7 separate regions of the Homo sapiens genome follow, and regions 2, 3, 4, 5, 6 and 7 are each linked to region 1. Evidence: promoter capture Hi-C in human tissues and cell types (Jung and others, 2019). All regions are on one chromosome and are shown on one strand. Each heading gives the region's core, a stretch centred on a gene start or on the middle of the fragment in contact. The rest is flanking DNA. Distances are from core to core; before and after follow the strand shown.

The links. The method cuts DNA at HindIII sites, captures the fragments that hold promoters and counts their contacts. A contact is called where the count stands out against the background at its distance.
Region 2: a fragment that was not itself captured here is called in contact with the fragment with the promoter of FAM110A in region 1 in 1 of the 25 tissues and cell types used here (stomach).
Region 3: the fragment with the promoter of RBCK1 here is called in contact with the fragment with the promoter of FAM110A in region 1 in 1 of the 25 tissues and cell types used here (aorta).
Region 4: a contact is called between the fragment with the promoter of C20orf202 here and the fragment with the promoter of FAM110A in region 1, in 1 of the 25 tissues and cell types used here (dorsolateral prefrontal cortex).
Region 5: a fragment that was not itself captured here is called in contact with the fragment with the promoter of FAM110A in region 1 in 1 of the 25 tissues and cell types used here (dorsolateral prefrontal cortex).
Region 6: a contact is called between a fragment that was not itself captured here and the fragment with the promoter of FAM110A in region 1, in 2 of the 25 tissues and cell types used here (dorsolateral prefrontal cortex and lymphoblastoid cells).
Region 7: a fragment that was not itself captured here is called in contact with the fragment with the promoter of FAM110A in region 1 in 1 of the 25 tissues and cell types used here (stomach).

The regions. Positions count from the first base shown.
Region 1 is chr20:831,921-835,858 of GRCh38, reverse strand. It overlaps FAM110A (family with sequence similarity 110 member A), which reads right to left and starts at 2,144. Exons shown (of 2, transcript NM_001042353.3): 1 at 1,908-2,144. RefSeq lists an enhancer at 128-227 and a silencer at 1,744-1,893. The HindIII fragment of the contact is 14,108 bases long and covers 1-3,938 here.
Region 2 is chr20:1,274,373-1,278,310 of GRCh38, reverse strand. All of the region lies in intron 2 of SNPH (syntaphilin), which reads right to left. Among named protein-coding and RNA genes, the nearest start is that of SNPH, 10 kb to the right of the region's middle. RefSeq lists a silencer at 2,240-2,440. The HindIII fragment of the contact is 3,510 bases long and covers 473-3,938 here.
Region 3 is chr20:406,103-410,040 of GRCh38, reverse strand. It overlaps RBCK1 (RANBP2-type and C3HC4-type zinc finger containing 1), which reads right to left and starts at 1,742. Exons shown (of 12, transcript NM_031229.4): 1 at 1,262-1,742; 2 at 16-160. The coding sequence starts at 1,283. RefSeq lists enhancers at 765-834, 845-944, 1,005-1,104, 514-1,154, 1,155-1,204 and 1 more and silencers at 1,775-2,044, 3,868-3,938. The HindIII fragment of the contact is 18,382 bases long and covers 1-3,938 here.
Region 4 is chr20:1,201,819-1,205,756 of GRCh38, reverse strand. It overlaps C20orf202 (chromosome 20 open reading frame 202), which reads right to left and starts at 2,303. Exons shown (of 2, transcript NM_001394958.1): 1 at 2,106-2,303. The coding sequence starts at 2,171. The HindIII fragment of the contact is 15,218 bases long and covers 1-3,938 here.
Region 5 is chr20:1,166,483-1,170,420 of GRCh38, reverse strand. It overlaps PSMF1 (proteasome inhibitor subunit 1), which reads right to left. Exons shown (of 7, transcript NM_006814.5): 7 at 1-3,938. Among named protein-coding and RNA genes, the nearest start is that of TMEM74B, 17 kb to the left of the region's middle. The HindIII fragment of the contact is 6,488 bases long and covers 1-3,938 here.
Region 6 is chr20:1,149,792-1,153,729 of GRCh38, reverse strand. The region is part of intron 4 of PSMF1 (proteasome inhibitor subunit 1); the gene reads right to left. Among named protein-coding and RNA genes, the nearest start is that of PSMF1, 33 kb to the right of the region's middle. The HindIII fragment of the contact is 7,151 bases long and covers 1-3,938 here.
Region 7 is chr20:516,441-520,378 of GRCh38, reverse strand. The region is part of intron 2 of CSNK2A1 (casein kinase 2 alpha 1); the gene reads left to right. Among named protein-coding and RNA genes, the nearest start is that of CSNK2A1, 25 kb to the left of the region's middle. The HindIII fragment of the contact is 4,623 bases long and covers 1-3,938 here.

The DNA.
Region 1 (3,938 bases), core at 895-3,394:
GCTCCAGGCAGTGGCAAGGGGCCAGCCAGCAGGGCAGCCCCAGCTCAATTTCAGCCCAGCTGTCCAGGTCAGGGACACCCAGCTGGGCCACCTCCAGAGCCACACCAGGCCCTGAGCTATTTCTGGAGGCCTCCCAGACGCTGGTGCCCTGGCCTGCCCAGGAGTCAGCCTTGCTCAGGGTGGCCTTGCACTAACATTAGGAAGGGAGAAGGGAGTAGGCTGTGGAATGGGTGTGGATGTGGACATCTAGGCCCACTGATACCAAGTTGATCTTCTAGGCCTAGGTCTGCACTTGAGGTTGCAAAATGGGGATGAAGGATTTTGCAGTGAGGACAGAATGGAAGATAACACATGCAAGGTCTTGGGGAAGGGCCTGGCACGCAGGATTAGAAAGGGGAGGGGGAGGCAGATCCACAGCCAAGCCCACTTCCTATCCTAGACTGCCCTCTGCCCAGGCCTGAGTGCACCATCATGACTTCTTAGCTCAGCCCAGAGACTGAAGAAACTTACTCAATGTCACAGAGCAACTCAGGGACAGGGCAGTGGTTTCATGATTTATAAATATGCATATATATACACATATATACATATATACACACATACATATATATACATATATGTGTGTGTGTATATATGTGTGTGTGTATATATATATATAGAGAGAGAGAGAGAGAGAGAGAGAGAGAGAGAGAGATGGGAGGACTGCACTTCATGAAGGCTGTGTGAGTTAACCTCCTGCCTGCAGAACACACAAATGGTCCATGAACGTTAGTTTCAGTCTTGATTACTGAGGTTTTGGGCATCCCTAAATTTTGCACTGGCTCAATTGCCTCAGCCCCTGCCTTGCATCACAGTGGGAGAAGATGATACATTTGCTAATAAGTAAAAAAACCAAAACATGCAAGAACCAGAGCAGGGCTTATGAAGTCAATAAATAATATTTGTTGAAAGAATAAAAGAAAGCCTTGTTTTCTTTCTGAGTCCTCGGAGATCCTGTCCCCCAAAGCCAGGGGCAGGCTCCAGAGGAGAGAGGATATGTAACTCCCTTATGAAGAGATTGAAGACTCTCAAAATGCATGATTCTGTGTGTCAAGGATTCTAAGATTGAAGCCAGAGGGACTAGGAGCTAACCACTGCATTGTCTGACTGTGACTTCGAAAAGGGGCTTAACTTCTTAGAACCTCCGTTTCCCCACCTACAAAAGGAGACTGACAATAGCAACCTAGGGGGCAGGGGGTGTCCCCAGGAGACACAGCAGGGTCTGGCCTAGGTCAGCTGCTCCACCTGGGGGGATTCCGGCCCCACTCCCAATTCCAAAGTCTCTGGTGACTAGTGGCTTTGGTTTAGGGACTGGCTCTATTCCCTTCCCCAAACTGGGGATGATTCCCAAGAGGCCAGCAGCGGCTCTGGGGGCTGGAGAATCTGCTGCCCCTGCATCCAGCCCAGAAATGTCAGTCCCGTCCGATCCCCAAAGAGTGGTCCTCTGTCCCCGTAGACAGAAAGGCGCCAAATGAGCCGAGTCCAACCCCGGACTGCGGAGAAGGAAAGACAGACGCCCAAAGGGGGTATCCCGAGGACAGTGTGGGGCGCGGGGATATGTGATCCAGCCAGGGGTCTACAGGTCCCTGCCGATAAAACGCTGGGAAAATGACTACCAGTTGCCCGTCTGGGCCTCTCAAGGCAAGTCCAGATGTGACTAGACTAGGGGGCTGCGAGGTGGGGCAGAAAGACTTGAACTGGATTCTCCGCCAGAGCTCGCCGGGCCGGGACACTTGCCTCTCTGAGCCTCAGAGTCCTCATCTGTGAAATGACACGCAGGTACGACGCGGGGAGAAAGCAGACAGCAGACGCTCGGGGAACGGGGCCCCCAGACCCGGGGTCGCACCCGGACCCACCCGCGCCCTCACCTGGAGCCCGCGCTAGGCGTGTCCCGGCTCCTCTCGCGCAGGCTTTGGAGAGGCTGACAGCTCGGACCCGGGCCGGTAGTGGCCGCTCCCAACGACGCCCAGGAGGCCCCAGCCCCGCGTGGGCACCTTTGGGGTCCCCTTTGGAGCTGCCCTCCGCGGTCGAGCTGAGCGGGTGGCCCTCACTGTCGAAGGCCCCCACCGCAGGGAAAGTCCCTGGGGCGCCGTGGAAGGGGAAGTGAGCACGCCGCCCCCCTTCACACCAGAATGGTTCGCCCCGGACTTCCTGATTGGTTCCTCGCTTCCGTTCGAACGGCGCGCCGCCAGGGTTGCCAGGCGACCGCTTAGCTTCCCCCGCCCGAAGGAGAGGCGCTGCTCAGCAGCTCCGCCCGCTCCTCCCAGCCGGCCCCACCTTCTTCCTGCCGCCGCTTCAGCCCCGGCGCCTGGTTCTTTCCCTTCCTCCTCCTCCCTCCCGCGGCCAGCTGGGACTTCCTCTAGGACCCCAGCTGGAAGAGCTCCAGTTAGAGGGCCCTGGCTGGTTCCTAGTCCTGACTTTGACGCTAACTCCCTATGTGACCCGGTGCAAGCCCCTTCCTTTCTCTGTTCTCCTAACTGCATGATGATGAGTGAGTTAATTTTAAAATGTGCATACCCAGCAGTCCCGAAATTTACAAAGGAAATGACCAAAGATATGAGCAAAGATTAATATTGCTCAGCCTTATTCATCATAGCAAAATAATGGAAACAACTTCAATGCCTCTTGAAAGGGATTGGTTATATAATTCCATCCTGTGGAGGAGCTAACTTAATTGAGCTTTTTGCATGCCGGGTAGCTTTACAGAACAAGTCTTGTCAAGGCTTATGACATAACCCTCTAAAAGTACTTTTAATTATTAACACTTTATTTATTTCTTTATCTTTTTCTTTTCTTTTTTTTTTTTTTTTTTTGAGATGGAGTCTCACTCTGTCGCCCAGGCTGGAGTGCAGTGGCAGGATCTCAGCTCACAGCAGCCTCAATCTCCTGGGGTCAAGCAATCTTCCCACCTCAGCCTCCCAAGTAGCTGGGACTACAGGTGTGCACCACCACACCCGGTATTTTCTGTATTTTTTGTAGGGATGGGGTTTTGCCATGTTGCCCAGACTGATCTTAAACTCCTGAGCTCTAGCAATTCTACCAACTCAGCCTCCCAAAGTACTAGGATTACAGGCATGAGCCACGCCACCTAGCCTAATTTTTCCCACTTTCTGATGAGGAATATTATGCAGCCATTAAAAGTGAAGTAGCTACCAGGAGCAGTGGCTCACACCTGTAATCCCAGCACTTTGGGAGGCTGAGGCGACCAGATCACCTGAAGTCAGGAGTTCAAGACCAGCCTGGCCAACGTGGTGAAACCTCGTCTCTACTAAAAATACAAAAATTAGCCAGGCGTGGTGCCACATGCCTGTAATCCCAGCTACTCAGGAGGCTGAGGCAGGAGAATAGATTGAACCTGGGATGTGGGGGATGCAGTAAGCTGAGATCATGCCACTGCACCCCAACCTGGGCAAGAGATCATCTCAAAAAGATAAAAATAAAAGTGAAGTAGCTAGAAGATATTTAAAGATAGGGGGAAATGCTAAGTATTAAACATTGGTTTATTTATGTTTTTTAGAGACAGGGTCTAGCTCTGTTGCCCAGGGTGGAGTGCAGTGGTGCAATCATAGCTCACTGTAACCTAGGTTGAAGCAATCCTCACACCTCAGCCTCCAGAGTAACTAAGACTACAGGCCCGCATCACCATGTCAAGCTACGGGTCTCGCTATGTTGCCCCAGGCCAGTCTAGAACTCCTGGCCTCAAGTGATCCTCCTGCTTTGGCCTCCTGAATTTCTAGGATTACAGGCATAAGCCAATGCACCCCTCCCAAATTTTTTTGAAGTACAGTATGCTTCAAAACACTATGTACAGCATAAATATGTATTAAATACATATGTATATGTGTATAATCATCTATAATCACAGCAGTTAATTTCTTCTTTGTGTTTTTGTGAATTTT
Region 2 (3,938 bases), core at 978-3,477, 440 kb before region 1:
CTTAGGAAGCCAGGCAAACAACACAAACAACACACATACACACAGACACTGACACACATACACAGATACACACACACAGACACTGACACACAAACACACACACAGACACTGACACAGAGACACAGATACACACACACAGACACACCGGCACAGACACACACACATAGGCACACACAGAGACACACACAGATACACACACAAACAGACACACACATAGGCACACACAGAGACACACACAGATACACACACAGACACACACACACAGGCACACATACACAGACACACATACATAGACACTGACACACACACAGACACACAGACACGCCACACACACAGATACACACAGACATACAGGCACAGACACACACAGGCACACACGCAGACACACACAGGCACACACACACACAGATACATACACAGACACATCGGCACAGACAGACACACAGGCACACACACGGACACACACACTGACACACACAGATACACAGACACACAGGCACAGACACACACAGGCACACATACACAGGCACACACAGAGACAGACACTGACACACACACACACAGACACACGACACACACAGATACACACACAGACACACAGGCACAGACAGACACACAGGCACACACATGGACACACACGGACACACACAGATACACAGACACACAGGCACAGACACACACACACAGGCACACATACACAGACACACACAGAGACAGACACTGACACACACACACAGACACACGACACACACACAGATACACACACAGACACACATGCACAGACAGACACACAGGCACACACACGGACACACATACAGATACACAGGCACAGACAGACACACACACAGGCATACACATGGACACACACACAGGCACACATACACAGACACACAGACACAGACATACACACACATAGACACAGACACACACAGACACAGGCACATACACATACACACACAGAGTATGAAACTCCCACATGGCCTCTAGTCCCAAGGAGTCCCTCAACCCAGGATTCCATCTGATAGGGACACCAAAGCTTCTTGTCATTTACTCAACATTTTTCTAGAATGTTTCTGTGTACCTGGTTTGTGCTGGGTACGGGGGTTCAGAGACAAATCAAACAATCCTTGCCCCAGGAAATTATTTCTAGCAGCCGTGGTATAGCCTTCCCCAAATTCAACCTAAACATTTCGCCACATGCCCCTAATATCCCAGCCAGATTCCCTTTCCAGGATCCCTTGGAGTCCTTCCTCCTGGGCCTGATTTTGTTTCTACCCTTGCCACCTCTTGGGAGAAAGCCTTCAATTAGTTCACAACTCCAGCAGAAGTCTGTCTTTTATCTGTGCAAAACAGACATCCAAGCCGAACCCCAACTGATTTCTAATAATTGACCAACGAGATCTGAGTCAAGTCTTCACAGAATCGCAAAAATTCTGGACAGGAAAGAATCTGAAGGTTTCAAAGCCCAACATCCATCTGACTGAAGTTCTGTTTCTCGGAATAACATTCCTGTTCTGCAGTCACCCGGACCCAGTTTGAATACCTCCAGTGAGGAGGGAGCTCACTGCCAAATGAAGATGTGTTGGCACTTTGGGAAAGTAGGGAAGTTATAAAGTGATTCCTATACAACACGGATGAAAGGGTACTGGCATTTATTAAGCACCTACTGTGTTTAATAAATAAAGCCCCTGGGCTAGGTAGGGGCTTTACACATAGAAGATTTCTAATCTAGTTTAATTCTCATGCCAGCTTTGCTGTCAGGAGGCCTACGTTATGATTATGATGCCCATTTTTACTATTGAGGTACTAAGGGTCAGATAAATTAAGTGACTTGCCCAGTCACAAAGTCAGTCCACGGCAGAGACGGAGACAGCAGTCCAAGTGTATCCAACTCCAACCTGCGCTCTCTGTTCCCAACCACTCAGAGAGCAGGGCAAGGGGGCCAGTGCTGCCTAGGCTTGGATCCTGGGCTTTTTCATCTGGATGGCTGGCCTCAGGGATTCCTTACAAAACTGACCTCTACCAGGCCTAACAACCTCTGAGGGCTTCTCTCTCAAACACACGGCCCCAGAGTGAGGAGCCCCCCTCCTGTGGAGGGGGAAGGGGCTCTCCAGAAGGAAGCCACAGACAGTTGGCTCAAATGGTCTACAGCTCCAATCTGGGCCCTGCGTGCCACCCAGGGAGGGCTGGTCTCTGCAGTCAGGGAACAGGAGGGTGTGGAGGGGTCAGGTCCTCTCCATCCTCTGAGAGCACAGAGCTTAGGCTGGTGACTAAGAGCCTGGGCTCTGTGAAGGAGCTGTGGGAGTTGGAAGTGGGTCCCCTGAAAGACAGTGTTTGAGCTGGGCCTTGAGACAGATCTGAACATGAGGAGATAGCAGTAGTAGTAGGAAGAAAATTTCAGGCAGAGGAAACAGGGCAAGTAAAAGTAATTGAGGTAGAAAGGAATGGCAGGGAGGAAATACTGCTGACTTGGGGTAGAACACGTCCAAGGGTCACTCAGGGACTTTTCTGAAGTCATAAACTATCAAAATGTCCTTCTCTAGCTCTTAGACCACCTCACTCCTATCAGGTCCAGGGCTAGCAACCTTGGTGTAAGAGCCCAGCTAAGCTTTGAGGAGGAAGGAATGCCCATTCACAGGCCTAAGAGAACAGAAATGGGGAGAGGAAGAGAATGAGAAAGCAAAATGAGGGGCAGGGAGAGTTTGGGCCCTGGAATCAGGTATTTGGTAGCTCAGCCACCATGTAACAGCTGTGGGCCATGGACAAATTGCTTAAATTTCCTATAACTCAGCTTCCTTTTCTATAATAATGCTTTCCTTACCTGGGCTGTCAGGAAGATGCTATAAGGTCACATATCCCCTGTGCCCGACATGTAGTGTAGCTGTTTTCATTAACCTGGACAAGAGTCGGGACTTAGAGGGTCAGAAAAGCAATCGAGGCCCATAGAGACAGGAGGAAGCAGTGTTCGTGGGGACATCTGCTATATACCAGGCTCTTTCCCACAGGGGACCACAACAGATCATCCCGTCTCCTCTCAGGCAGGAATAATCGATTTCTCTTTGGCAGATGAGAAAATGGCCCAGGGGGTAACACAATTTGTCTGAAGTCCCAGGCTAACAAGTGGCAGAACTGGAAATGAGCCAGGCCTGGCTCTGAGGAAGCGAGTGGCTCCCAGAAGGCCCAGGGTGGCTTAAATGGATGGAGCTGTGGCTCCTCCCCCTTTGGCTCTGAGCCCCAAAAGTGAGGCAGGTGGCCACTGCCAGAAGACGTAGTTTGCCTCATGACACTTGCCTCACAGAAGAGGTGATGTTTAGCGCACCCCTTCTCCCTCTGGGGCTGCACGTCCAAAGTCCGCCACTTCTGAAAGGGAGGCTGGAAGGGAGGCGAATCTTACAATGCATACAGAGGGGATGTGTGGGAAGCAAGACGGGGGAGGTGGTGCCAAACTGGCTGCCTAATGAGGCTTTGGGAAAGACGCAGGACCCAGGATTTACTGTACCTCTGCTTCCACCATTTTAAAAGCCAGAAAGGACAGGGAGCTGCCCTTTGCTGAAGGGCACCAGACCGATGGCCTAGCCAGACTAGAGAGCTCAGTGTCCTCAGACTCACAGTCCTTACACAGTCCTCTTCCGCTCCCTTCCCGAGTGCCAGCCTTTAGATCCTTTCTAGTTCCTCCTCTTCCTCCGGGAAGCCTTCTCAGATAGTCTCAACCTACAGCTATTCTTTCTCCTGGGAATGCCAGCAGCACCCACTGCTTGCCTCATCTGTGACCAGCCCTATACTAGGATTCCAGATCTTCTGGGTTACAGCTGTCAAGCACAGCCTTTCCAAACTCCATCCTATGGCAAGAATTCCTCCTAGAACATCCAGCCCTATGTGAGCAGCCCAGAGATGAGGTGCCAGCTCTCAAAACACATTGTTTTGTTACTAGATTTTTT
Region 3 (3,938 bases), core at 493-2,992, 430 kb after region 1:
CCATGCACTCCTCACCTGATGTCCTGCGTTGGGGAGACCTCAGGCTTCAGTTGCACACTCAGGGGCACCCGTTGCTCTGCCAGCCAGATGGCACACTTCATTGCCACCTGTTCATCCCCGCCCGCCACTGCTCGGGTGAGGCTCAGGGCCATTTCCTCTGCTGAAAGCCAGTACAGCAGGAGCCAGTTAGCACAGGGTTTATTTTCAGGAGCTGAGAGTAATGGGGTAGGAAAGGAGGCGATCCTTTGTGTGTGCTGCTTTCTCTGTCTTCCTGGTGAACTCCTACGTATCCTTCAGCACCCAGACTAAAAGTCCCTTTCTCCGGGAGGGGTTCTCTAATATTCCCCACTCCTCCTCACACTAGGCTCATTTGGTTGTTTGTCCTTCCCATTCCCAGGGTCCCTCATATTTCTATTCATTTATCCAACAAGCAGTTATTGAGCTTCTACTGTGTGCCACCCACTGTCCCAGGAACTGGAATCCCACAGAGATTTATAAACAGGGCCCCTCTCCTTATGGATCTCCCTGCCCAGTGGGGAGACAATGAACAAGTTTAACAAGAAAAAAAAAAAAAGTCAGATTGCGATCCTTGCTGGCAGGGAAATAAACAGGTTAAGGAGACCAGGGGAGGCCTCTGGGAGGGGGTAACACTGAAGCTAAGACCTGAAGGAGGAGAAGCTGCACGTGTCAAGCTCCAGTGGGGAAGAGTGGTCCAGGTGGAAGGAAGAGTAAGGGCCTTGGCCAAAAAATGGTTGGATGAGAACCGAAGGAAGCCAGTGGGGCTCCAGTAGAGTGAGCATGGCGGGGTGACTGAGGACAGATATCCTGTGGGCCACCCAGGGCCTCTGGGTTTTGTTTGGAGAACACAGAGGGGCATGGGAGGGTTTCCAGCAAGGCAGTGACTGACTTCCGTTCTACAACCCTAGGTGCAGGGGACAAGAGAAGAGGCAAGTACCCCTGCTTCTCAGGTCAACTGACGTCTGTCTCCCACCAGCCCAGGAGGTCTCCAAGTTCAATGCCCTGTGTCCTCTGCGAGTCCCCTAGCCCCATCTCAGCACAGAGCCAGCCCAAGGAGTTCTCAGGGCCCCAAGATGGCTCTGGAAGCCAGCAGGTACCAAAGGAGGAAACTGATGGGGAGGAGGGTAGAGGGAGGGCAGGCTAAAGCCCCCTCTCCAAGGCCCTTCTGGCCAGGGGCAAGGCCAGGTCCTGCGGGGCCCACTTCCCACCGGAAGTTCCCCAGCCACCTCCAGCCTGTGCCCACCTTTCTTGGTCTTCTCGTCCATCTGGCGTGGCTGTGCCCATCCCCCTGGGGGGGACCGTGCCTCCTGGGAAATGCTACCTCCGGGTCGCCTGGGAGAGGCGGGAGACCAGGAGCAACTCAGCCAGGCCGTGTGGCCTCCGGCGCGGCCCAAGCCCTGTGTGTGCCTCGCTGTCCCCGCGGCAGTCGGGAAGCATCACACTGCCCGGTGACCAGGCCGGGATCCTGCGTGGGGCGGTGAGAGGGCAGCGGGCGCCGAGACAGGTCCGCACTGGGCGCAGGAGGAAACGGGACCAGCCGAGGTGGGAAGAAGCGGGGAAAGGACGCCCGGACACCACCCAGCCGGGGCGTTCCAAGTCCCGGAGGACCCCCACTTGCGGGAGCGCCCCTGGCGTCCCGGGTTTCAAGGCAAAGCCCTCTCTCCTCCCGGGAGGCCCCAGTTCTTCGCAAGGGGAGCGGCTTCGGCGGAAGAGAAAGTGAAAGTGGCGGCCCCGGAAGTGGGGCGGGACTGGGAGGGGGGGCCGGAAAAATTGTCGCCTCATCCGGGACCTCCACTGCCCGGCTACCCGGCGGCGGCGGACGCCGAGTGCGGGGTCCCAGCGGTCCCGGCGCTCCTGTTTGGGGCGACCCCACCCCGTCCTCCGGGGCTGATCGCGGGTCCCCGGACTCCCGCCCGGGTCACCCTGCGGGCCGCATCGCAGAGCCGCGGGAAGGAGCTGGGCCGCAGGCGGGGTGGGCGGGGCCGGGGCGGGGCCGGGGGCGGGGCCGGGGGGGCCGGGGGCTGGGGGCGGGGCCGGGGTGGGCCGGGGGCCGGGGCCGGGGCCGGGGGCGGGGCCGGGGGCAGGAGCAGGAGCCTGAGCAGGAGTCGGCGCCGGAGCCGGGGCTGGAGGGCGGCGGGATCCACAGCGTCGAGCCGCTGGGGACGGGTTAGGAGCGCGCCCTGCGAGCCCGGCGCCTGCTCACCCAAGCCTCAGGCATACCTCGGGGCAGGCCCGGTCCTTGGCCCCGTTTGCACATGAATAAACGAAGGCTCTGTTTGTTGATGACCTGTCCAAGGCCACTCAGCCGAGGTTTGAATCCAGGCCTGGCAGGCTCAGGAACCCGCCCTTACCCAGATCCGACGCTGCCTCTCAGCGGTCACCGTCTGTCTTTTCGTTGAGCTATTGGTGAAGTTTGCATTCGTCTGCCTCATGCGCCGCTTTAATTTTTCTCCCGTTCCTCGTCCCATCGATCAGCAGATCCTGCGGGCTCCACTTGCAGAATCTCATCCCTCACCTCCTCCGGCCCCATCCCGCTCCAGCTCCATCAGTGCTCCATCATCTCAGGGGTCTTGAACCAGCCTCCTCCTGGGCCTCCTTGCTTCTCTTTTTGCCCCCTACCGTCCATTTCCACCTAGCTGCCGGAGAGTCCTGTTAAAATGTAAATCAAACCCATGCCACTCCCCGACCCAAGTACTCCCATCTCACTTAAAGCAAAATCCGAGATCTGTCCCAGGGCTCGCAAATTGCCTCCCGATCTCTGTCTTCGTAGCTGACTGCCCTGCCCCTGCCTCATTCCACTCAAGTCCCATTGACCTGCTGGGTCCTGGAGTAAGTCAGACACACTCCCGCCCTAAGGCCTTTGCACCTGCCATAACCCAAACGTCTGCATGGCTCCCTCCTTCCCTTTATTTTGGTCTTTACCCAAAAATCTTCCCTAGTTACTCCATCTGAAATTTCACAGACACACGTATCCAGCATTTCACATCCGCTTTCCTGGCTTCATTTTTTCTTCTCAGCATCTATTACTGTCTAACGGAGCATGTTTTACTTATTTATGTTATTCTGGGTCTGTTTTCCTCTCCTAGAGGGCAGGGACTTTGGTTTGTTTTGCTCACTGCTGTGTTCCTGGTGTCTAGAACAGTTCCAAACACATAATGGAGGCTCCATATGTTGAATGAAGGAATGAACCTCAGACCTTCATCTGGGATAATTTTTCTTTTGCCGGAAACACATCCCTTTAGACAATGTTTCTTAACTTTGGCTGTACATTTGAATGGCCTGGGGAAGCCTTTTTTTTTTTTTTTTTTTTTTTTGAGATGGAGTTTCACTCTTGTTGCCCAGGCTGGAGTGCAGTGGCGTGATCATGGCTCACTACAGCCTCCAACTCCTGGGCTCAGCTTCCCGAGTAGCTGCAAACCACGGGCACGTGCCACCACAGCTGGCTAATTTTTGTAGAGACAGGGTTTGGTCATGTTGCCCAGGCTGGTCTTGAACTCCTGGGCTCAAATGATCTGCCCACCTCGGCCTCCCAAAATGCTGGGAAATGGTTGCTGTTGAGATATCATCACCTGTCAATCTAACTGCTGTTCTTTTTATAAACAGCTTTATTGAGATATCATCACCTGTCAATCTAACTGCTGTTCTTTTTATAAACAGCTTTATTGAGATATAATTTATATGCCATAAAATCCACCCACCTAAAATATACAATTCAATAGTTTTTAGTAACATTTACAGAATTGTACACCCATCATCACAATCAAATTTTAGGACATTTTTGGCTGAGCATGGTGGCTCACACCTACAATCCCAGCACTTTGAGAGGCCGAGGTGGGCGGATCACTTGAGGTCAGGAGTTCGAGACCAGCCTGGCCAACATGGTGAAACCCTGTCTCTACTAAAAATACAAAAATTAGCCA
Region 4 (3,938 bases), core at 1,054-3,553, 370 kb before region 1:
GATAGAAAATTTAAAAGCTACAAAAGGACATATATTTAAAAGTCTCTCCCACCCACCTCACTTTATCCCTCAACTCAAGCGTCCTTCTCCAGAGGCAGCCACTGCAAATGCTTCTGTTTTTCCTTCCAAAGCTGGTCGGGGCAACACATGGTTAGATATACAGATTCTCAGCCTCTCTCTTTCTCTGTCTCTCTTTGCAAGAGATACTTATGAACATTATTTCCCCACTAAAAATAGTGTTTTCATTTTTGTGACAAGCTGATTACAAGTAAGAAGACCAAGTCTGCATCCTCTACTCAAGCATGAGTAACACTGCCAAGAGAATATGTAGCTAGAAAGAGAGATGTGAGGCCAGGCCCAGTGGCTCCCACCTGTAATCCCAGCACTTTGAGAGGCCGAGGTGGGCAGATTGCCTGAGGTCAGGAGTTCAAGACCAGCCTGGCCAACATGGTGAAACCCGGTCTCTACTAAAAATACAAAAAAATTAGCCAGCCGTGGTGGCATGCGCCTGTAATCCCAGCTACTAGGGAGGCCGAGGCAGGGGAATCACTTGAACCCAGGAGGCGGAGGTTGTAGTGAGCCGAGATCGTGCCACTACACTCCAGCCTGGGCGACAGAGTGAGGCTTCATCTCAAAAAAAAAAAAAAAAAGGAAAGACGTGAAGCAAAGGTGTAGTCGGCCTCCCTCAGAACACTGGGACGACTCAGGCTGCAGAGCGAGTGGTCCTGGGCCCATTTTTTCCTAATTCCTCAGAAAACATTCACTCTGTGTTTTCTCGATTTTAGGGTTTTCCTCCTGCACATATTTCTGGGTATGCGCCTACAAGACCACAGTGGGGTTCCCAGCACGGAGGTGGTGATGAGGCATCCAGGCACCCACAGTTTCAGGGAGCATAAGGAAGACAGCTGCCCAGTGCTGGATGCCTGCTGACTGTGGGAAGCTGCAGTCCCTGCTGCTGGAATTCCCTGGTCCCATGAGAAACCCTACTGGGTCAGCCCTTCCTCTGGGGTGATGACAGGGTTGGGTCCCAGCTGGCCTGTTGCCTGGCAACCCAGAAAGGTCATTTTTGGACAATCCTGTCTGTCTCTCCCCAGGATGAGAGGTGTGTATATTGAGAAACAAACCTCTTCTGAGGTTCCCTGAGCTGCCTCCTCTCTCCTGGCTGGTGTCCCCACACACTTGGGGGCACCCCTCTTTTTTCGGACTTGGAGAAAATACCATAATGAAAGGCATAAGCCTGGCTTCCTGAGCAGCAACCACAGGACCAAGTAACATAACATCGGGTCAGGAGAGTTAGTGCTCCATGGGGGAGGCCCTTGCCAATGGGAAATGAGAGACAGGAACGAGCTGGGCAGATGAATTTCCTCTCGTTCTCTCTCCCCCAATGTGCAGTTCCTCCTTCAACCCCTGCAGAGCATCTCAGCTGCTGAGACACCCACTGGGCCTCCTTAAGGCAACTTCTGAAGCCGTAGGCTGCTTGGTAATACAATGTCTGGCGTAATTGCCTGGCATAGCATTGGCCTCTGCTGCCACACCCTATGTTCCTCCCTATCACCACCCTTGGCTTGTACTTCCAAATAAAGTGCTAGTTTCTCAATCCTTGTCCAAGCCTCTGCTTTCTAGGGGACCCAGGCTAAGACATTGGGTGTACGCATGTCCATCTGGGTCAGGGTTATAATAGCCAGCACCACGGTGCCAAGTATTCATTAAGAGGATTACAAGCATCTCTTCAGTGAATCCTTACAATACCCCATATGATATTGGTACTATTGTTATTCCCATTTTGTGATAAGGAAACTGAGGCTCAAAGAGATAAATCCCCTGCTAGAGCCACACAGAGGACTCAGCACACACGGAGGACTCAGTGTCATTCTAAAACCAGTCTGGCCAGCACCACACCCAGCACCTCCCATATAGGCCACGACCTACTTATCCCTGAACCTGAGATCACAATTGTGCATTGTGTGGTAGGTCCCAGAGGGGAGACTGCAGGGTCCATACCGTAGCCTGCAGCCTCTGCCCCAGGGGGGACCCGGGAAGGAAAACCAGAGATCTTTGGAAAATATGTAGTCGGGGCATCAAGGAAAAGCAATGCAAAACCTTACCAGCTCCTTTCTCAGCCACTCCAAGGTCTGCCCAAGACTCGGGCTGGGCTCTTCTGCTATTTTCATCTCAGTGTTCTTAGGAGTGACCTTGACACTGACCTGGTTCTGGGCCCGAGGGATCTTTGACTTGTACATTCCCCCAACTCTTTCAGACTGGCAGCAGGTTCTGGCCAAATCACTGAAGATGGAGTTAATGAGAGCAGGAAGTAGCTCACATTGAAAAATGTAATCTGGCTTTTTTTTTTTTTTTAAAGGGCTTTAGTGCTCTGAACAGAACAAGGAGGAAGGGAGGGAGACCATTATGGGTCCGAGTACCTTGGAGCCTGCTGTTCCAGAAGCCAAGAATATGTGATGCCAACAGGATCACAGAGAATGCAAAGCTTTAAATGGCAACAATATGGTTATTATGAAAATAGGCACTCTTTTCTAAGGGTTTGCTTTGTGCTTTACATATAAACTATGTATATGTCTCATTTGGCATATACCTCCACGGGTGTCCCAAGTCCCTGTCCTCATTTACTTATCTATAGAGTCCAGATAAAGGAAATGCTCACTTTCCAAGTTTCCTTGTTTCTGGAATCCCCATGTGACCCATTTCCAGCAAATGAGATCAAAGCAGCAATTTGCTGTTAGGCTTCCAGAAAAACTTTTACCTTCCTAACAAAAGGGAAAATGTCACTGCTGCTTCCCTTTTACTCCTACTTTCTCCCTTTTCCTTCTGCCTTGAATGTGGATGTAATGTCTGGAGCTATGGTAACTGTCTTGCGACCATAAGACAAAGCCCAAGAAAATCACAGAGCCATTAGAAATCATTGCACCCCTGACTCGGCAACAGCATCTATATGAGAAAACAGACCCGATGTCTAATGGAACACTCTGCTACTTGCAGGCAAACACAGTCCTGACACACCATTTATTCTTCCCATTGTTATAGGAAAGGGGTCCCAACCCAGACCCCAAGGGAGGGTTCTTGGATCTCATGCAATAAAGAATTCAGGGGGAGTCCATACAGTAAAATGAAAGCAAGTTTATTAGGAAAGTAAAGGAATAAAAGAATGGCTACTCCATAGATAAAGCAGCCTTGAGGGCTGCTGGTTGCCCATTTTTATGGTTATTTTTTGATGATCTGCTAAACAAGGGGTAGATTATTCATGTCTCCCCTTTTTAGACCATATAGGGTAACTTCCTGATGTTGTCATCGCATCTGTAACCTGTCATGGCGCTGGTGGGAGTGTAGCAGTGAGGATGACCAGAGGTCACTCTTGTGGCCATCTTGGTTTTGGTGAGATTTAGCCACTTTCTTTACTGCAATTGTTTTATCAGCAAGGTCTTTACGACCTGTATCTTGTGTTGATCTCATCCTGTGACTTAGAATGCCTTAACCATCTGGGAATGCAGCCCAGTGGGTCTCATCCTCATTTTACCCAGCCCCTATTCAAGATGGAGTTACTCTGGTTCAAATGCCACTGACATCATCACACCGTGAAGCAGGTATTCAATTCTCTCTTTCGCTAAACACTTATTGAATGTCTACTGTGTGCCGAGTTCTGCTCTAGACACTGGGGTTATCAACCAAAATCAGAGAAACAAAGGCCCTGCTTTCCTGGAGCTGACATCCTAGTAGTCATTGGAAACAAACAATCAAATTAATGCTACGATGAAAATATGTAGACTCTATTCTCACATAGGTCTTTTAAAATATAAATTTATTGGGCAGGCGTGATGGCTCACGCCTGTAATACCAGCACTTTGGGAGGCCGAGGTGGGCGGATCACCTGAGGCCAGGAGTTCGAGACCAGCCTGGCTAAACATGGTGAAACCCCGTCTCTACTA
Region 5 (3,938 bases), core at 966-3,465, 330 kb before region 1:
GGAGTGGATACTGGGGGTAAAATCAACGAAAACTTCGAATCAGAGTTCATGCATGCATTAATCATAATGTGCCATTAACCAAGAGGACTGACTGGCTCAATTCTTTGTACTCGATATTCACGTAAAGGAAAAAGACATAGTCCATGTGAGCTTCTCTCACTTTAAGTTTACACAAATCTCATGGAGAACTTGTTAAAATGCAGATTCTCATTCAATGTCTGGGGTGGGGCTTGAGATTCTGCATGTGTAACAGGTTCCCAGGTGATGCTGCTGTTGCTGGTGGTCTGAGTAACAAGGAGGTAGGTCTTCCCCTCCCTTCTCAGTTCTCAAACTTGCATGATCATAGGACTCACAAAAGGAACTTGTCAAAAATGGATCTGAAGGCCGTTCCCTTGAGATCTAGATTGGGGCCCAGCATGTACTAATGTGTACTTAGAGCAAGCATCTCAGGAGATGGTTAGGCTCAGGCATGCAAGGCTGTGGTACCCATTTATATCATGGTCCATGGCGTAGACAACACAGAAGATTGGCTCACTAGACCTCTGTCCCAGTGCACCTTCCAGGAAAGGTGGGAAGAGGGAATAAAGACATCTCCCCAATATTCCATGCCAGTACCATTTGAGAGGCCATGTAGGTTCCAACAACCAGACGCATTCAATTGAGCCTTGAACTTGGATGAGCTAGCTGAGTGGTGTCCAGATGGCAGTGTGAAGGACATCTACTTTTTGGTGCAGATATAGGCAGCTGCTGTGTGGCTCTGGAGTTCCTAATCCCCAGATTGTAGCAATGATGATGTGATCCTGCTGCTCTCTGGACCATTACCTTTTTGGTTACAAAAGGTAAATTTCTGTTTACTGCAGCTGAATCCCAGGACTAATGCGTCAGCAGCATCCTCTCACTACCTTGTCCCTCTAAACCCACTGTGACTCTCACAACATCCACCTTAGGTGGCTCATCTGGAACGCAGCTGTTCAAATGGGCATCCAGTGACCTCTATTGCACTGCACCATCAGCCTCACGTTCCTCCAAGCAAGGGCTGGGCCTTCCACTTCGCACCTCCCATGGGCACTACCACTCGTGAGGTGTTCAAACCTCCTGTCATTGTTGCTGGGTCTGTCCTCAGTCAGCTAGGCCTTGCCACCCCTCACTGCCTACCATCCTACCTGCCACCCTTGCCTTTTGACCCACCCTCCAGGACAGATTCAGGGCCAAGTACGGCCGCAGTGACTTGGTCCATGTGTCCTGGGGTTAATGCAGTGACGCATTAGTCCTGGGGTTCAGATGCAGTAAACAGAAATTTACCTTTTGTAACCAAAAAGGTTACGGTCCAGAGAGCAGCAGGATCACATCATCATTGCTACAATCTGGGGATTAGGAACTCCAGAGCCACACAGCAGCTGCCTGTATCTGTGCCTTGTGGTATCCCAAGGGCAATAAAGGGCTGGGGACTTGGATGTCTGTCCTTGAATATCTCCTTTGGTGCAAAAAGTCAATAGTGGTTTATACACATGCAAGTTTTATGACAGAAACAGCTGGGGATATACATGTGGGGAATCTTCCCTTGCCCTGGTGGTGCCTTATTGGAAATGTACAGAAGTAGACAAATTTAGGTGACAAAGAATACTAACTGCTCCATAGATTCTAATATTCCTCCTGTGAAGAGAGGCATGGATCATTAATAGAATGTTATTAACAACAGTAGAAAGGGAGGCCATAGGAGAAACTAGGTTCCAAAGAGTGAGGCTGCGTGGAACTTGCTACCTATTTTCTAACTACATGTCAACAACCACTGACCATCCAGCACAGGAACACCATCGCCACTGTGAGCACAATACATTCTTGGAGTTTCAGTCTCAAGAGACTCATGACTTCACAACGGAGGTTGACAGACACTTATGACTGAGGAGATGAATGCAGTAAGAAACACTGCTAACTCTAAGAATTGGGGAAGAGACAAGCCAAGGAAGAGGAGGTGTGATGTGGGGGCTGCTGGTACATCATAGAAATGGTCCGAAATGGTCTATGGCACTTCACCACCAAAAGACAATTTAGAACCAGATCTTTATTCTACTTGTAATTCACTGGATAAACAAAGAAATTTCAAACCAAACCAAAGTGATGATCTGAATCTCATTAGACCTGAAGGTCATGAGAACTTTCTCTAGAGACAAAACCTGCCCTGTATCACATCCAGCCTAGAACCATCCCCAAAAGTCAAATCAACTGCTCTGCAGCTCACCAGCCATGTTCATCCCAAGGTGGTGATTATCAAAACCACAGATTGCTCCCCAAGGGGGACTGACTCTGGTCTCTGCCTTGCTTGGTGTAGGTCAAAATTCTTTTTTAAAAAATGGAAGAGAAGACCACAATGAGATGCTACTTCACGCTAACTAGGATGGCCATAAGCATGAAAAATAACAAGAGTTGGTGAAGATGTGGGGAAACTGGAACCCTCATAAATTACCAGTGGAAATGTAAAATGGTGCAGCTTCCGTGGAAAACAGTCTGACAATTCCTCACAAAGTAGAATATAGAGCTACCATGTGAACCAGCAATTCCACTCCTTGGTATATACCCAAATGAACTGAAAACATCTGAAACTCAAACAACTGAAAACTCAAAAACTGGTACACAAATGTTCTTGGCTGCATTACTCATAATAGCCTTTTTGTAGAAACAACCCAACTGTCCATCAACTGATAAAAGGATAAGCAAAATGTGATATATCCATACCATGGATACATGCTACAGCATGAATGAATCTTGAAAACATCACATGAAATGAAAGAAGCCAGACACAAAAGGCCATAATACTGAGTGATTCCACTTATGAGAACTGTCCAGAAAAAAAAAAAAAATCTTTAGAGACAGATGTTAGTGGTTGCCTGGGGCTGGGAGCAAGGGAATGGGGAGTCATGCCAATGGGTGTGTGGTTTCTTTTTGAGGTGGTGAAAATGTTCAGGAATTAGAAATGGTGGTGGATGTGCAACACTGTGAACATACTAAATCCACTGAATTGTATACTTTAAACAGGTATGTAAATTATGGGTATGTAAATTATATCTCAATAAAGCTGCTATTTAAAAAAGGAGGAACAGGTCACTTAGTGCTGATGTTTATTGTTAAGGCTCCAATCTTTTGGGTTCTACAAAATATACACCTGAAACACTCCAACTTGCTCCTTGATGATTACTCATGACTGGAAGGAGGGAAGTGGCCCAGATCAAAATAAGCACCATAAGCTTGACCAGGAAGTTCCTAAAGGCTCTATTCACTTCCTCCCATAGAACACCTAAGACAATGACTGTGTTTCTCAGTGTCCTTGATGCAAGGAAACTCACAAAAAAAATGGCCAATTCTGAAGGTGAATCACAATTTTGTTTTCAGAAAACAGAATTTTGTATATAACTATCTTTTCGGACTTTGCTGCTAGAAAATCTAAGTGGCAAATTTATTGTTTAAATTTTATCTTTTCCTCACATCAAGGTCCTAAAAGTTATCTACCTTCCCTGCTTCTATCTGATGGTCTCTATCATCCTTTAAATACTTCCTTTTATAATAAAGGATGTCTTTATGAGCAAACTGCTCTAAGTCCTTTTGGTTGCAAGAATGGTCCAATTCCAAAACAAAGACTAACACTCCTCCCATTTGCCATCTCTCAAAGGTTATGAGTAATGATTGAATCTGCACCTCTGCCTGATCTCTGGGTCTTTCTCCAAAGCAGAGATGTTCTAAAGGTTTCAAGGTGGTTGGCTTCCCTGACTCTGGGGTGTTTTACTAAATCACTGCTTGCCATGGGGACTGACAGAAATACCCAGGGAGCCACGCATGCTAGCCTCCCCACCCAGGCCCAGCTTCCATCTGAGACTGACCCTGGGCCTAGGCATCAGTTTAGTTTTCATCTACCTGTTCTCAGGCTAAGCAGATAGGCAATCTGA
Region 6 (3,938 bases), core at 655-3,154, 320 kb before region 1:
GTAACGGGTTAAGACTCTTGGAAACCTCAGGGGAAGAAAGATATATTTCACATTTGAGAGGTCAGAGAACAGATTGTGGTAGATGGAATTCGATCCCCTCTCAAGACTCCACAACTCCTAATCCCCAGTACCTATGAATGTGATGAGAAAGCAATCCTATTATTGTTTCGTTGTATGGCACAGTTGACCTCAAAAGGGGACATTATCTCGGTGGGCTAATCTAATACATGGGAACCCTTAAAAGCACAGAACATGGATTGTGGAGGAAGAAGAATGCCCAAGAAGAGACTCAACACAGCACTGCTGGCTTTGAAGAGGTGGCAGACACATGAGAAGAAATGCAGAAGGTCTTATGGAGCTGAGGGAGAGGGATACGGACCTTAGTCTTATAACCGCAAGGAACTGAATTCTGCCAGTGACCTGAATGAGCCAAGCAAATCCATACTCTTGACCTAGAGAATTATGAGATAATAAGTGGGTGCAGTTTTAAGCTACTCATTTGTGGCAATTTATGATGCACACATATGCTGCAAACACTTTCCTCACTTTACTGGCCTTACACTTTGAGTTCAGTTAGCTTACAGATGTTATGAAGACAATGTTTTTCTAAGTAATTTAGAAGAATAATGAGACTGACTCCAGCATTGGTAAGGATAGGGAAATGACATTGAAACATAGTGAGAATGTCAATTAACACAACTGTTTAGAAAAAGGGCAACTGAGCAATCTGTATCAAAATCTCTATAAACAGGCTTGGTCCTTAATGTAGTAATTCTATAGGAATCTATTCTAAGGAAACATTCAGAGACGTGCTCCAAGTTGCATAAAAGTATGTCTACTGAAGCATTAGTTATGGCAGTCCCAAATCAGAAATGACAGGCTAAAAAAAGAACTTGCATTGTCCTTGAGTTTTCTTCCCTTCATTAAGCCAACCCATCAGCAAGTCCTGTCAGGTATACTTCCAAATATACCCCAGAGCCACCTGCCTTATATACCACCATAGTCTACCACCTACCACCATTATTTCTTGCCTGGCTGCCTGTGTCAGCTTCTTCTCTGGGTCTGTTTTTACTCTTGTCCCTCTATAATCCATCTCTACAAAGGAGCCAGAGGGTTATTTTGTTTTTTAATGTAAACAATATGAAGTCCCTCCCTTGTAAAACCTGTCCAGTGGCTTCCCATTCTCCTGATCTTGGCCCCATGGGTTATATGCATCGGACTGTGCTTACCCCATGGTGTCATCTCCTCTGTTTCTGCTCCACTGCTGTACTGTGTTCAAACCAGTATTTGGAGCAATCCAAGCCAAGTTCATTTCTTTGTTCTTGGAGCAATCCAAGCCAAACTCATTTCTTCTGAAACAACTGCCAATACATGTGTCAAAAGTTGGAAATACTAAGGGCTGAATCCTGCTCCAATGCTCATAAGATGTGTTGCTTTGGGCAAGTCAAGCTCTTGCTGCCTCAGTTTTCTTTTGCATAAAACAGAGATACCAAGAGCATCTACCTCATTCTCTTATGAGGCTTAAAAGATATTGTTTTACATATACTTTACATTTAATGTAACTGCTCAGCCCACAGTAAAAGCTCAATAAATATTAACCATGTTAACACGTCCACTGTCAGAATATGACTGGGATTCTTCAAGAGGAAAAAAAAAAATCCGTGGTTAACCGAGTCCCAACCACGTAACTTTTCAAAACATTGATGGCTCCCATCACCCCATGGATCAAATCCAGCTTCTTAGCACATACTGGCCTTGTGATTTGGCCCTCATGTTCATCTTTTCTCCCTTCACATGCTGACATGAGTGAAACAAAAACTCCCCCACTTCTACAAGATGATTTCATAGCCCCACTGGTACCCATCGTTCCCTCTGCCATAAAAGTCAATTACCCTCAATACCACAGAACTTTTATTGGTCCTTTAAAATTTAGCTCATCAGGCATCATCTCTCTGAAAACTTTCCTTCTATCCTTCAGATTAATCACTCTTTAATGTGCTTCAGCAGATCTCAGACATACTTCTACCATTGTTTTAAAAAGATTTATGATCTGGAATGAAAAGGGCAATTAGCCCCTATCAACTGTGAGCTCCTTGAAGGCTGGGTCCACACCTCATGACATATTCCCAGTAAGTGGCACATGATGGACACTTAGATTGATTTGGGCATAAGACTCAAGTCCAAATTCTGGCCTCACCATTTCACAGATGTGTGACCCAGGGCAAGTTAGAAAATCTCCAAGCTCTAGCTTTCTCTTGTGTAAAATACAGACAATAGTATCTATTTCACAGGGTTGTTATACATATTAAATGAGAATGCTTACAAAAGTGTAGTGCCTGAGTCCCATAAGTAGAATTCAATAATTTACTATTATAACACAACTTTTGCTTCTTACTGTTGTGAAGTTACTTACTGTACATGAACTTCAGCTTCCTTACCTGCAAAATGGGGATAGCCCTTACCAATCTCATGGAATTGTTGAGGGGATTAAATAAGAGCACATGGATTAAATGCCCAGCATTTGTCTAGAATCAATGGCACTGAATAAACAGTAGCTGTATAAATGTTATTGAACTTTGCTATCCACAGGAAAAAACCAAAGGGATATTATGTGACTCCAAGGCGAAAGGAATGAAAACAAATTTTAAGAATAGAGAATAGTTGCACAAGTAATGAAAAATGAAAATTAAATTATTAAAGTAACATAGGTAGAGGATAATCTTTTCAAAATATGGTGCTAGACCAACTGGATATCAATGTGGAAAAATATAAATCTCACACCACACATAAAAAATATTTTAGATGGATTATAGATCTAAACATAAAAGGTAAACCATTAAAGCTTCTAGGAGAAAATATATGAGGATTTCTCCATGACCTTGGCATAAGGCAAAGACTTCTTAAACAAAAATCAAAAGAGCACCAAACATAAAGGGAAAAGCACTGATAAGCTAGATTACATAAAAATTAGGAATGCTTTAACAATAATTAAAAAAAACCATTAATAGGGTAAAAGGGCAAGCTACAGAGGGGAGGAAGACATTTGTAATACATATATTTAATGAAGGACTTAAATTCAGAATATATTATATAAACAATGCCAACAAGTCATAAAAAGACAAGCCAATAGAAAAATGAACAAGAGATTTGATTACCTCTTCACAAAAGATGAAATCCAAATGGCTAGTAAACTTCGAGAAAAAAAAAATTTTAATGTGGCTCATGGACTCCTGTCCCATGAGGTCAAAACTATTCTATCTCAGAAGCTATTTGCTTTTTTTTTGCTGTGTTGACATTTGCACTGACGGTGCAAAAGCAACAGTGGGTGGAACTGCTGATGCCATAGTATGACTCAAAGCAGCAGCACTAACCTGGCCGTTATTGCACCCTCCCTTACCACTCACTCACCCACATCCAGCTTCACTTTAGAATGTACTTGATGAAGAGGTATAGATTGTCAAGTTTTGTAAAATTTCAATCTTTGAATATGTCTTTTTAATATTCTGCGTGAAGTGGGAAACGGGCATAAAGCACTTTTTTTTTTTTTTTTGAGACAGGGTCTTGCTCTGTTGCCCAGGCTGGAGTACAGTAGTGTGATCATGGCTCACCACAACCTCCACCTCCTGGGCTCAAGCAATCCTCCCACCTCAGCCTCTCAAGTAGTTGGGACTCCAGGGTCACACCACCACATCCAGCTAATTTATAGAGACAGAGTTTCACCATGTTGCCCAGGCTGGAGTACAGTGGTGTGATCATGGCTCACCACAACCTCCACCTCCTGGGCTCAAGCAATCCTCCCACCTCAGCCTCTCAAGTAGTTGGGACTCCAGGGTCACGCCACCACATCCAGCTAATTTATAGAGACAGAGTTTCACCATGTTGCCCAGGCTGGTCTCAAACTTCTAGGCTCAAGCAATTCACTTGTCTCAGTCTCCTGA
Region 7 (3,938 bases), core at 961-3,460, 320 kb after region 1:
TATGTATTATCCTTTTGCCAATACACTGTTTTGACAACTATAGCTTTGTAATAAGTTTAAGATCAGTTAGTATAATTCTTCCAGCTTTATTATTTTTCAGAATTGTTTGGATTATTCTGGTTCATTTGGATTTCTTTTTTAATCCAGTCTGATATGATAGTCTTTGTCTTTTACCTGGATAATTTATTCCACTTATATTTAATATAATTAATCATATTCCAATTCAACTTTCTTCCCCTATGCTTCTTATGTTCTAGATTTTTTTCTTCTCCCTTCTTAACATTCTTTTGGATTCTTTTTATGATTTTACTTTTCCCTCTTTCTGGTTTGGAAATATATGCTATTTTTATTCTGTAATTAGTTGTCATACATCTTGTGACTTGCAGCTATAACTTAGCAAAACCTGATATTATAATTTTATCTTCTTTTCATATAATAAAAGACCTTTAGAAAGAATACTTTGAAATCTCCTCAATACACTGTGTTTTTATTGTTATGTATTCTATGTTTTAAAGCTCCTCAAGGTATTGTTATTCTTTTGTATAATCAGTGTTTGTTTGGAGCTGTCTGTAAATTTTCCTCTTTTTTGCTCTTTATTTTTTCTTTCAACTCAGACCTTCCAAAATGGGATTATTTTTCTTTTTTCTTTAGAGACATTTGCTTGATAACAGAATTTTAATTTGGCGGCTATTTATTTTTTTCAGCACACTGCAGGTATTAAACTACTTGGCTTCATTGTTGGTTTTGAAAAATCAGCTGTTCTAATGTTGCTCTTTGAATATAATCTGCCTTTTTCTGTACTTGCTTGTCTTTAGTTTTTTGTTTTTGTTTGAGACAAGGTCTTGCTGTTTTGCCCAGGCTGGCCTCCAACTCCTGGGCACAAGCAATCTTCCTGTATCAGCCTCCCAAATAGCTGGGACTATAGGCCTGTGCCATTACACCCAACTCATCTTTGTTTTTTCCTGCTATTTTGTAATTATATGTTTGGTTTTGGATTTCTTTTTATTGATCTTGTTTGGAAATTGTTTGCTTCTGGAATTTGATTGTGTCTGATTGCTTCTGGGATATTTTCAACTGTCTTCAGTTACTGCCTTTATCCCATTCTCTTTTCTGCTAGTACCAATTAAAAGTATATCAAACTGGCTGGGCACGGTGGCTTACGCCTATAATCACAGCACTTTGGGAGGCCAAGATGGGCGGGTCACTTGAGGTCAGAAGTTCAAGACCAGCCTGGCCAAAACATGGCAAAACCCCCTCACTACTAAAAATACAAAAATTAGCCGGGCATGGTGGCATGCACCTGTAGTCCCAGCTACTCTGGAGGCTGAGGCAGGAGAATCACTTGAACCTGGGAGGCAGAGGTTGCAATGAACTGAGATCGTGCCACTGCACTCTAACCTGGGTGGCAGAACAAGACTTTGTGGCAAAAAAAAAAAAAAAAAAAAGTATATCCAACGATTTCACTATATTTTTCCTCTTGTTTTTTGAGATCTGCTAGGACATTGTATTTAAAAATAAATAATTGGCTGGGTGCGGTGGCTCACACCTGTAATCCCAGCACTTTGGGAGGCCAAGGCGGGTGGATCACGAGGTCAGGAGATCGAGACCGTCCTGGCTAACACGGTGAAACCCCGTCTTTACTTAAAAAAAAAAAAAAAAAAAAAATTAGCCGGGCGTGGTGGCGGACTCCTGTAGTCCCAGCTACTCGGGAGGCTGAGGCAGGAGAATGGCGTGAACCCAGGAAGCAGAGCTTGCAGTGAGCTGAGATCAGGCCACTGTACTCCAGCCTGGGTGACAGAGCGAGACTCTGTCTCAAAAAAATAAAAAATAATAAAAATAAAAATAGATATTTGTAGTGATCATTTGAGGCCCACAGTAAGGTACTTTCCTCCATGGAGAGCTTGCTTATATCAGGTATGCATGGGCACTAATCCAGAGACCACCTTAAAACAAGCTTAAGATATGATATTCCCTTCAGTAGGGCTTTAATTCCTCCCTGGATCTTCCACTCCCTAGTCACTCTCACCATTAGGAAGTATGCCTCTGAAGTCCCACCTTATGAAGAGGGCCTCCTATTAGACTTTTTGTCTTGTGAGAGCCCTGGGCTTTGGTTTATGTGAGAACAAAATTCTAATTTTCAGGATCAACAAAGGCTTTCCAGGCTTCCTTGCTTGCTTATATCTCTGGGTTTGCATTTTCTATTCCCTTTTGGCTATAATTACTTCTCTGTCTTATTTAAAGATGAGTGGGCCAGGTGTGGTGACACATGCCTGTAGCCTCAGTTACTTGGGAGGCTGAGGTGGGAGGATTACTTGAGCCCAGGAATTTGAAGTGGCAGTGAGCTACGATTGTGCCACTGCACTCCAGCTTGGGCAACAAGGAACTGATTAGTGTTGGAAGTAGAGAAAAGAAAATAAAGAGAAAGAATTCCAAAGCTTGTGAATTAATGATACTGTTTGTTTTAAGCACAAAATGGTAACAGTCGAGTAAACTAATAGTCTCCAAATCAGATATAAAAAGGTTGCTGACCTGATGTGCAAAAAAAGCACATCAGGTGCTTTTTTACACCTGATGCCACGTTGCATGTGGCATCCAATGATGTGTTTCTTATAGAAGATAACAAAATGTGCCAGCCTTTGGTCATTTTAGGGTGCAAAATTATAGGTCTTTAAAATTCTTAACTTGCTTTAAAGTGTTACGCTTTGCAATTTCTTGTTTTAATGTTTTCCATCTGAATAATTCCTGTGCGTACTTTAAGTGCAGTTTTTTTTTTCTCTTACAGTTTTTCCCCATTTTAGGTACTCCATAAATATTTGTTGAATGAATGATGGGTTGGTGATAGTTTAAATACCCTTCAACGTCTGTACACCACCATGACTTAATTGTTTCAAGCACTGATCACTTGAGATTGTAATGGTCTGTTTTCTTTGTCTGAGGGCAGAGATACTTTCTCCAGGACCAAGAGAAAGAATGCCTTTCTGGCAGTCAGGCACACATTTCCTGGTACATAGTAAACGTTCAGTAAATGCTTGATGTATGAGCATTCTGCTCTTGATTGGAAAGGAAGAAAGAAATTAAGGTTAAGTATGGACATTTGAAATAAGTAATTCAGGTAACATTAGCTACTTGTGCTTTTTTGTATTAAGTTGGCCTTCTAATCAGTGCCCCTTTTGTAAAGGGAAATGGGCAAGTTTGACTGAATTTTTCTCTTTGCTTCTGTAGCAAGGTAGAAAAGTATACATATTTAAGGTCTCGCTGAGTTCCACAAGTCTTGTTTGTCTCTTACCAGTTTATGTTGCCTGATTGCTTGGAAAAAGAGTTCATTCTCTGCAGCAGTGCATAAAAGGTGTCTTCCTGTATAGCTGCTTTTCCTCTAAACAAGCAGTCCTAAACCATGCAGTCAGTGCAATCTAAGCACATTCCTCATTCTTTGCTATAGAAATCTTTGTCCTGTCGGGATGATGATGAGATCTTGTTCATTTGCTATGGTTCATTTAGGGATGAGAAGGAGATTTTTTTTTTCCTTTTAAGATGGAGACTAATAAACATTAGGGTTAAAAAGAACTAATTATATTACAGTTCAAAAATTGACTTAAAGTTCTAGAATGATCTTTTCCATTTCTGATACTAGGAAATTCATCAATAAAAATACATTAGCAGAAATGACTAAGCAAACTTGTTTGTATAGTTTTCTGGTATTGGACTGTTACTAAGCCTCTAGTTTTCTTTTTAGTTGCCAAATTGAAAAATAACAACTGAACATAAGAGATTAGAAGGAGGGACTAGCTAAGGGCAAGAGGAGTTTTTATTGAAATTAATTCTGCTGTATTCAGTGTATATCAGTAAACTTATGATTTTGGCAATGGACAATTTTTCCTTATGGTTTAATGGCATTTTCTTTTTATTTACTTATACTTTATTAAAGAATAGGTCATGCA